Regions from separate parts of the Homo sapiens genome. Here regions 2 and 3 are each linked to region 1. The links are contacts of gene promoters, found by promoter capture Hi-C in human tissues and cell types (Jung and others, 2019). All regions are on one chromosome and are shown on one strand. The core of a region is centred on a gene start or on the middle of the fragment in contact, and the rest is flanking DNA. Distances in the headings are between cores, read along the strand shown. Region 1 holds the start of EPHX1 (epoxide hydrolase 1). Region 2 overlaps ENAH (ENAH actin regulator). Region 3 overlaps LBR (lamin B receptor).

The links. Contacts are between HindIII fragments. The study calls those that stand out against the background at their distance.
Region 2: a fragment that was not itself captured here is called in contact with the fragment with the promoter of EPHX1 in region 1 in 1 of the 25 tissues and cell types used here (mesenchymal stem cells).
Region 3: a contact is called between a fragment that was not itself captured here and the fragment with the promoter of EPHX1 in region 1, in 2 of the 25 tissues and cell types used here (pancreas and psoas muscle).

The regions. Positions count from the first base shown.
Region 1 is chr1:225,808,541-225,811,758 of GRCh38, forward strand. It overlaps EPHX1 (epoxide hydrolase 1), which reads left to right and starts at 1,584. Exons shown (of 9, transcript NM_001136018.4): 1 at 1,584-1,629. RefSeq lists a silencer at 1,542-1,761. The HindIII fragment of the contact is 8,152 bases long and covers 1-3,218 here.
Region 2 is chr1:225,530,736-225,533,879 of GRCh38, forward strand. All of the region lies in intron 3 of ENAH (ENAH actin regulator), which reads right to left. Among named protein-coding and RNA genes, the nearest start is that of LINC02765, 65 kb to the left of the region's middle. The HindIII fragment of the contact is 3,365 bases long and covers 127-3,144 here.
Region 3 is chr1:225,420,074-225,423,341 of GRCh38, forward strand. It overlaps LBR (lamin B receptor), which reads right to left. Exons shown (of 14, transcript NM_002296.4): 3 at 2,004-2,204. Among named protein-coding and RNA genes, the nearest start is that of LBR, 6.3 kb to the right of the region's middle. The HindIII fragment of the contact is 4,842 bases long and covers 1-3,268 here.

The DNA.
Region 1 (3,218 bases), core at 334-2,833:
CCAGGGGCGTGCCCTGGTAAACTGACATGGCACACTGATATGATGGGCATATCTTATGCTCATCTTCCACCCAGTCCCTGTTTTAGCTAGTCCTCAATTTGGTCCTCAATCTGGTGTCCAAGCCCCACCTCTGGCGTTAAGTCCTGACTCCTACCTGTTTCACCATCACTGCAGTTTTAAGAGTAACGAATTTGGGTCCCCTGGTGAAGTGGCCAGAGGCAGAGCTTCTGTGTGAACTATTTGGAGGGGAGGGGAAAGAACTCTCCCAGACTGCAGGTTCTGAAAGGAATACAGAGATGTCAGAGACTGCAGTTGCAAGAGAAAGCTTTTATAGGAGGGTGTAGAATTAAAGGACAAGAGGACTCTACATGTGGATGGAGGAGGGCACCCTGTCCGGCAGTACTGCAAGAGCAAAAGTTTGGAGGTGGGAGTGAGGTGAGTGCGTCTGCCGGCCAGAATTCTTGGGCCAGGGTGAGCAGAAAGGTTGGAGGCCAAGGGAAGGTGGGTGGTGGTGAACCTTATCCTGAAGTGTGCAAGGTGACAGTCAGAAGCTTAGAACTCCAGCCACGGGCCCTGCATGTGGCCTCCTAGCTGTAGTCTGTCCACCGAGATCGTGAGGATGCTGGTGGTTGAAAGAACTGCACCTCTGAGCAGGTGAAGAGAGAAGCTAAGGAGGGGTGATGGCAGAGGCGATGGGACAGGCTTTCTAACGATGAGGGGCTGGGGATCAACGCTCTCACGGAAGCTAAAAGAGCCCCAGCAACCACCCGCCTGGGCCCTGAGCTCTCTCCAAAGCGGGAGGGGATTCACTAAGAGGTTGCTCCCCTGGCATTGAACTCAGCATCCTATACTGGTCCTCACCATGAAGACCCCCAAGAGTGCTTCAGACCATTGCTTCTCACATTCTCTGTATAAAGACACTAATTTGTTTTTAGATTTCCAAGCATGTCACGGACCAATATGTTTGTTAAATATACTAAGAATGAATTGCTAGAAAGATGAAATTAAAAAGACATACACCGCCAGGTGCAGTGGCTCACGCCCATAATCTCACCACTTTGGGAGGCGGAGGTAGGTGCATCGCTTGAGCCCAGGAGTTCAAGATCAGCCTAGGCAACAAAGTGAGACCCCCGTATCTACAAAACTTAAAAAATTAGCCAGGTGTGGTGGCGCAGTCTGTAGTCCCAGCTATTCTGGAGGCCGAAGTGGGAGGATCGCTTGAGGCTGCAGTGAGCCGAGATCGCACCACTGCACTCCAGCCTGGGTGATAGAGTGAGACTCTGTCTCCAAAAAAAAAAAGGACATACATCATGCAAGTTTGGATTTTTGTTTTTAGATTCAACTGACGAAGTTACGGGATCAAACTGCTGTAGGAGCTGCCAAACGCTTCTCTCCATTTCTGGCCGCGGGGCCGCGGACCGCCCTTTAAGTAGCCCGTTTTATCCCTGGCAGAGGTGGAGCCTTAGGCAGGCCTAGAGACTTTCCCGGGTCCTCCAGGCCGGGGAACGCCCCGCTCGGAGGCCGGGCTTGGGCGGAGACTGCGCCGGGGCTGCTGAAAACTAGCCGAGGAGAGCCAGGGAGCCGGAGAGATCGCGCGCCTGCCGCCGCCGGAGCCTGCGAGCCGAGACCGTAAGCGCCCGGGGCCGGCCGGGCCCGCACTCCCCGGACGCAGACGCGGTTCGGGCTCCGCGCGGGCTCGGCCGCCGGGGTGGGCGGCGGGCCGGGGCGCCGAGGGGTCGGGGCTGCGGTCGGCCCGCAGGGGTGCAGAGGGACTTGTAGTTGGTCCGCCCCCAGCTCCTGCCCCGGCCAGGAGACTGCGCGTGCCGCCTACTGGGGGAAGGAGCCTGCAGGCGACCGCGGACTTCTCGCAGGGAATTCCGCGTCCCAGACTGTGGGCGGACGCCGCAGGGAGGGAGGCTCGCGACCCCGAGAGCGCACCGCGTCCCCTGGCCTGGGCGAGCTCTGCTTCCAGGGCCGTGGCTCGCTCGGCGGTGAAATGCACTTAATTTGTCACCCAAGTCGGAACACTGATTTTCATGCGCGTCCGTGTGAAGAGACCACCAAACAGGCTTTGTGTGAGCAACATGGCTGTTTATTTCACCTGGGTGCAGGCGGGCTGAGTCCGAAAAGAGTCAGCCAAGGGAGATAGGGGTGGGGCCGTTTTATAGGATTTGGGTAGGTAAAGGAAAATTACAGTCAAAGGGGGGTTCTCTGGCGGGCAGAGTGGGGGGGGTCACAAGGTGCTCAGTAGGGGAGCTTTTGAGCCAGGATGAGCCAGGAGAAGGAATTTCACAAGACAATGTCATCAGTTAAGGCAGGAACAGGTCATTTTCACTTTTGTGGTGGAATGACATCAGTTAAGGCAGGAACCGGCCATCTGGATGTGTAGGTGCAGGCCACAGGGGATATGATGGCTTAGCTTCGGCTCAGAGGCCTGACACTGATCACACCTTTTAGTTGAAATGCGCTTTCATCTCCATCTGCTGCCGCAGCCGCCGCCCGGCACCCCCTCGCTCTGGTCTCGGGATTGAAGGCCAGCCCTCTCCTCTTGTAGAACAGGAAACTTGCCCGGGAGTTCACCTTGTAGTTGAAGCCAGGGAATGTGGTCAACCTGAGCAAAAGCGCCGCGGAGACCGAGTGGCCGCCTGCCTCCCTCCCTGGCAGATGTCGGTTTTCTCTGAGCTTCTGGCTCCTTCCTTGCCCTGGCGGCTCCCGAGATCTTGGAGGTGGGGTGCCTAGCAATGTTGTAATCCTAATTTTGACTTTTTTTTCTTAAAGTTGAATGCCCCCTCCATAGCCCACCTCCCATTGTTTAAACTTCAGGTTCCGCAAAGCCTGGATCCGCCCCTACAGGCAACACTCGTTGTCCTGGAAGTTCTGTGAGGGCTCAGCTTGTGGCTGGAGGTGGGAGGTGAGGGGGACCCATGCACTTGGCAGGCCCGCTTCCAGGACAGCCCTTTGCTGGGATTGATGAGCTGTTGGTGGAAAATTGTTGAGGACCTTGGGGTTGGTGGCTGTTTCGGTACCACTGTGCAGCCTCCTCTGCATCCAGCATAATTTAAAATAAACATTTTCAGGAAGCCACACTTCTCCAGAAAGTAACATTGTTTTCTGGTGTAACGGTTGCCTCCTTCAGGGAGCTAGGTTTGGGGGATAATAGGGGGCCTTTCACTGGCCCCACTTGGTCTGACTTAGCAGCAAAAACTCTGCGAGTGCTC
Region 2 (3,144 bases), core at 559-3,058, 280 kb before region 1:
TACAAACGTGTCTTCTTTTTGTCTAGCAAAATAAAATATAAGCTTTACATAACACAGAGCAAATGAAAGACTGCAACATAATACTGTCATCATCTCCAGAAGGCTTACTTGAAACAAATGGAAAACATCAACAATAAGGAAAAAGAAACATTTATATATGAAGAGCTTGAGTAAAACAAGTGTTCGATGAGCATCTGAAGAGGCACCTAAGCTTGACAGTTTCTAAGACAATGAGACATTCTCTTTGGGGTAATTATTCATGAAGTGGAGAGGGAGAACTTAAATGAAAAATCAGAATTCAAAAACTCACCTAAATAGAACACTGGAAATGAAAAACAGGAGAGAGAGAGAGCATGAGAACCTTATTACTAGACTCCAGTATGCTAAAGCATTTATCAAATTTGCCCAATTTAAGCTGCCATTTTTGTCTAATAGCCTAGCATTTCCAGCACTGGTGAAAACAAACATTTGCTAAACTTCCATATAGTAATTAACCTACTGAACTGAATTTTTAATGTAACAGGTAATTTTAAGTTTTCATTTAGGGTAAGAAGAAAAAAAAACTTGCATTCATACAACATGGTTCTGTCATGAGACACTAATGACCATCCATTCCCACATATCATGTACAATGCAGACCTGTTTTTTGCATCTTAGATAGAATGCCACTGAATTATGGGACATCTTAATGTCATTGGATATAAAAATCAAATCTGTCACAAAATGAGATAAATACTGGACCTAATATATAATACCTAGGGTTAAAATAGAACAATCTTAAAGTCTAATCCAGTAAACAAGAAAGTAAAGAAACAGTAGTTATCTTCCACTCTTGGAGAAGAATATATGAGTAATGACACACTACATATATTTGTGAATTCTAGTGTACCAGCAAATGCTCCTAACAGATATTCTGAAAGATTTGTAGACAACTTAGGAAAATAAGTTACGAAATAAATGCTTCTGTGCACTAAATTCTTGTAATCTATGGGCTAATTGTGCAAAGTATTTTATACTAGTGGAGTAGATTTCACAACCGGAAGTAAAGATTTATTAGGATGTAATGCAGTACTGGTGTATCCCAAGTGTGGAAAAACAGAATTAATTTGATCTGAACTTACCTACTAACTTTTTTTCTCACCTCTTTACAAATGTTTTTAGATTAATCACTTTATTTGTCCTCTAAAGACAAATTGATGACAACTGCAGTGATATATTTCATTAGATTTCCTAAGAGTCTGCTATTTTGAGAACCAAATAAATATTATAAAAAAAAATTAATCCCATGTAATCAATAACAAAAAAAAACAAAACTTTTGAAATTAAATACACACGTAAATGTTTGTATAAATGAAAATACATGATTGCTGTCTAGTAAACAGACTAGAATTCTTTTCTTGGGAAATTAAAATAATGATGTAAAAACAGACTCTCCTATTAGGCTATACACAAATGTTTAATACTTTACAGAGAAAAGACCTCTCTTCTGGGGACACACAAGTGTGGGGAGGGGCGGGTAAATCTGAGGTAGCATGAAATTATTTAGGGAATGTACTTTATATATCCAAAGTACTAAATGTGAGCATTTAGCATGGGCAACTCACAAGACCATTATGTTTTAACTATTTTTTAAAATAATGTTTACTTGAGTATTTAAGTTGAAAGCCTCAGGCTGCTTAAATAATGAAACAGCTGAATGTGAGTAGGTTAGACCTGTTTGGCATCTACCTCAAAGAAGAATGCAATTATACCAGTCACACACCTAGGACAGGTGTTATATATCAAAGGTAATATTAATGGATTAAATTTGCCAATTAAAATCTCAGTTTTAATTCAAATATATAGATTCAAAAAAGACGTCAAAATTTCAACTCAATCCTATTTATTTTATTTAACAGGTTTTTAAAAAACTAACACAAGTTTAATGTAACTCACAAAAGCTGAGAAAAGAAAATCTTTTAGCAATTTACAGAACCTGCTTTGGAATATTTTTTTAAAGCTTTTTAAAAGCTTACTAAGCAAATCTGTTCAGAAAGGAGATTTTTAAAATGTGGGTAATATTTTGTGGCTGTTATCATAATTATAAAAAAAATTTACTACAGTTTATTCCTGCAGCTGAGATGAAAAGCTTCAAGGAAGTTCCTTTTAAAATGGGGAGAATTTTGATCCTAGAACAACTCTTAACAATTCTTTTCTACATGGTTCTTTGTGATGATAATGGATTTTTGGGCTTTTTGTCTTTCCAGACATCCTTTAAATTGGGTGTGTGTGTGTGTCCGTGCATGGAATCACTCCCTTTGGCACTTTTTCACATCTACATTTAATCTGGTTGTTCTGTTTGTTTCTTCTTCAAATTGTCAGGTTGCAGTAACTAGCACATTGAAATTTATGTGCATTTAAAAATTAATACAAACATACTATAAACATTAAAAGTTCCAGGTAAATATAAATTTAAGGTACACAATTACATTTTTCCTTCTTGTCAAACATTCTAATGGGCTATAAAATTGGTAAGTAATACCAAAGGCACCCCACATGACATGAAGCAGCAACTAGGATCAGGCAAAGTCTGTCAGCTGCCGCTGTATGTTCAGGAATATAAACATTACTTTACACAGGTCACATTCCTAAATGAGTGTGTTCTCATAAAATGCAAAATAGGTACTTTCATAACCATTTCAGTGGGAAAATGACAATATTTTATGAGCATCATGTGGTGGTTAACAGCCCTTTGGGGAGGGGAAAAAGAGGGAAGAACAACCAAGGTTAAGAAACTAGTGAACCTGCTTTGCTCTTTCTATGTTATCATAAAGAATAGCAGCTGTTTGAGAGTTTGTTCTCTCCCTCACAGCCAAAGATAGTGGCTGATCTTAATTTGTCCTGGCTACAAGAAGAAGGTATATAGCAAAGTCTGTGAGTTACTGTTTGTAACAGAGAAATGTGGCAATGTCACTGATACAGTACCCTATAAATGATTAAAATCAGATCAGGAGACTCTATAATAGGAACTGTATGTCAGTCTTGCCTTCAATATTGAGTTTTGGTTAAAGCACATTCCACTTACTGTCACATTTTAATTTTCACAAATCTATTTTCACAATTAGCCACAGACTATTTAAAAACACAGGACTAAAAGACAAATCG
Region 3 (3,268 bases), core at 119-2,618, 390 kb before region 1:
AAGGCGGGTGGATCACCTGAGGTCAGGAGTTCAAGACCAGCCTGGCCAACATGGTGAAACCCTGTCTCTACTAAAAATACAAAAAAATTAGCCACGCACGGTAGCGGGCACCTGTAATTCCAGCTACTTCGGAAGCTGAGGCAGGAAAATCTCTTGAACCCGGAGACGGAGGTTGCATTGAGCCAAGACCGCGCCATTGCACTCCAGCCTGGGCAACAAGAATGAAACTCCGCCTCAAAAAAAAAAAAAACAACTTTGATCTTTCACGTAATCAGACTGAATGTCATAATTTCATTGATAGATTTTAGGGGTATTTACTATGAAAGGCAGAGAAAGTAAAAATTGGTAAATTAGTTCATTAACTGGATAAAAAACAAAAGACATTCAAAAAGACATTCACTGCTCCAAAATAGCCCATAATGGAAAACTAAGAAATAGTGGGTACTTATGCAACACACAGTAGGCCCAAGGCACTACCAGGTAAGAGGCAAAGCTTCTGTGGTTCTTGTGACACCAGGACTGTAAGATTACACTGTAAAAATATAGCAGTCACTAAATATTAAAAATGAAAGGATAACAAAGTATCACACAGCATCTGTTCCTGGAGTCCCGGGGTGGTAAAGAGAGCCACTAATAGTTAAAATGTTCTAATTCAAAATATAAGTTAGAACAGTAAGTTGAAAATGTCTGACAGCCACATTCTCCAAAAAAAAAAAAAAAAATTATAATACTCAGAATGAGAAACTGAGCATTCATACACTGATACTACTATAAACTTTCTTGATGCAATCTGGCAATATGTATTAAAAGCCTCAAATCTGCACCATACAGCTGACCTAGCAGTTCCACTTGTAAGAATCCATCCTAAGGAAATAATCAGATGTTACATAAAAATACTTGTTTGTAATAGTGAAAATATGGAAGGAAAAACACTAAATGTCTATCATTGACAGAGCTGACTTTAACGATTAAGTTACATGTATACAATTTACCATATATCCATACTATAGAATACAACAACAAAAATGATGTAGAAAAATACACTCTGAAAGGTTATCCCAATATTTTAAAATGTCTTAAAGCTGACTACTGAGCAGTATGTATATAATCCAGTTTTTAAAGTTTATTAAAAGTCTGTTGCCGGGCGCAGTGGCTCACGCCTGTAATCCCAGCACTTTGGGAGGCCGAGGCGGGTGGATCACGAGGTCAGGAAATCGAGACCATCCTGGCTAACACGGTGAAACCCTGTCTCTACTAAAAATACAAAAAATCAGCCAGGCATGGTGGTGGGCGCCTGTAGTCCCAGCTACTCGGTAGGCTGAGGCAGGAGAATGGCGTGAACCCAGGAGGCGGAGCTTGCAGTGAGCTGAGATTGCGCCACTGCGCTCCAGCCTGGGTGACAGAGCAAGACTCTGTCTCAAAGTCTGTGTGCCTTCTATCCAGAAAAGAGGTTAACATTAAGTGAATAGAAGATTACTTTTATTCTTTTTACTTAACATACTTTGTCTTTGGTCTACTATCTAAAATACTATTTGTACAAGATCTACAGGCTCCATGCACCCTGATATTTCAAAGCTTACATCTTGAAAGTAATTCCACTAAAATCATCTTTGAATAGGTAAAGTGATAAAGTATAATGATGCTAAGAGTAAGAATGTTTCCGTAATACAGGTTTGTCTTACCATTTCATACATGATATGAACTTTTATACACTGTAAAAACCTTACGCAGTTCAATCTACAAGCTACATCTATTTCAAATTTGAACGCTGCTTTTTTAAAAACTAAAATATTAAATAGCATTTCTGGTAACTGAAGGACATTCTTTTCCATTGATATTTAAAACTTTCTATTCCAAACATTTGTTTTATATGAAAACTCCCAAAGTCATCAACTTAGATTTGATGTTTCAGTGACATTTTAATATTATTAACTGCAAGTAACTTGAGTAAATATATACATAAAGCGGAAGACAAAAGGCTGTATAAGGATAAACACAAGTACCAGAATCAGCGGAGTCAATTTAACTTCCACTTCCCTCCTTGCTTCCTTAATGTCGGCCTGGTGGGAAGCAGAAGCAGATCGGCGGGCACTTTTAGGTGGTCGACCAGGGGATCGGGAGCGTGACCTTGATCGACTCCCTCGGCGTCTGGAAGGGGAACTGGAAGTTGAGCCACCTTTCCTTTGCCTAAAGGAAGTTAAAGGCTAGAAAGGGGGAAGAAGGCAAAGAGCTTTACCACAAATCATAACACATACAGACAGACCCACACTAGAAGAGGATAACAAAGGCAGGAACTGCTACCATTAACTCTAAAATCAGCACGGGAAATGTTAGGATCTGAGAATGGATCAGATGAAGCCAATGGAAAATGCTTTCATAATGATCCATCTTTCATGAGACAAATGCAGCCTTTCCATTCCTGTTCTTTGAAGGTATTTCCATGAAACGAATGTATCTAAACCAATTAGCTGTACTTATTTCCAACACCATATGCAAGAAGGGTAATAATTAACATGGATTAAAACTGAGACGACAGGACAAAATAAATAAGCACACAGACCAAAAAAAAAAAAACAGTACCACAGTTTCACTCTGAACAAAACACATAAGCAGATCTTGAAAATAAAACATGAGCTTGGATGACTGGGAACTGTTTCACTGTGTCCCCACCTACTCCGAATCTCCTTATGTTGCTTCTAGGGATGTAGACAAATTACGCCCCAGGCCAAGTCCCTCACCCCAATTTTTGTGTGGCCTTCCTACTAAGAATGGCTTTTACATTCTTAAATGATTACAAACAAAATCAAAAGAACAGTATTTCCTGAAGTGTGAAAATTATCCAAAATTCAAATTTCACTGTCCATAAAGTTGTACTGGAACACTGCCATGTCTGCTCCCTTCCATACTGCCTGGAGCCGCTCCCATAAAGTCTAAAATATTTACTTTCTGTGCTTTATTCCTGGTCTAGAGCACTCGAAGTGTCATCCTCAGCCATGGGTCCTAGAAATGCTCGTTACTAATCTGTGCAAGTACCAAAATTGAGAAATAGGTGTATGGAAATGTTTATAGCATTTTGACAAAGTAATCTCATATCTATCGAATCTGATAGTAAAACTGTGAGTCGTCTATTGTGTATGTCTTTATTTTTCTAGTAACTCATTTTTATGGCATTTTATATAAATGTTTGTATACTACGGATCAGATATCTTAAAACCCAGGCCCTCACCAGACAGGTTGAAAAGCCCTGGGCTAGACTCGAATCTAATTA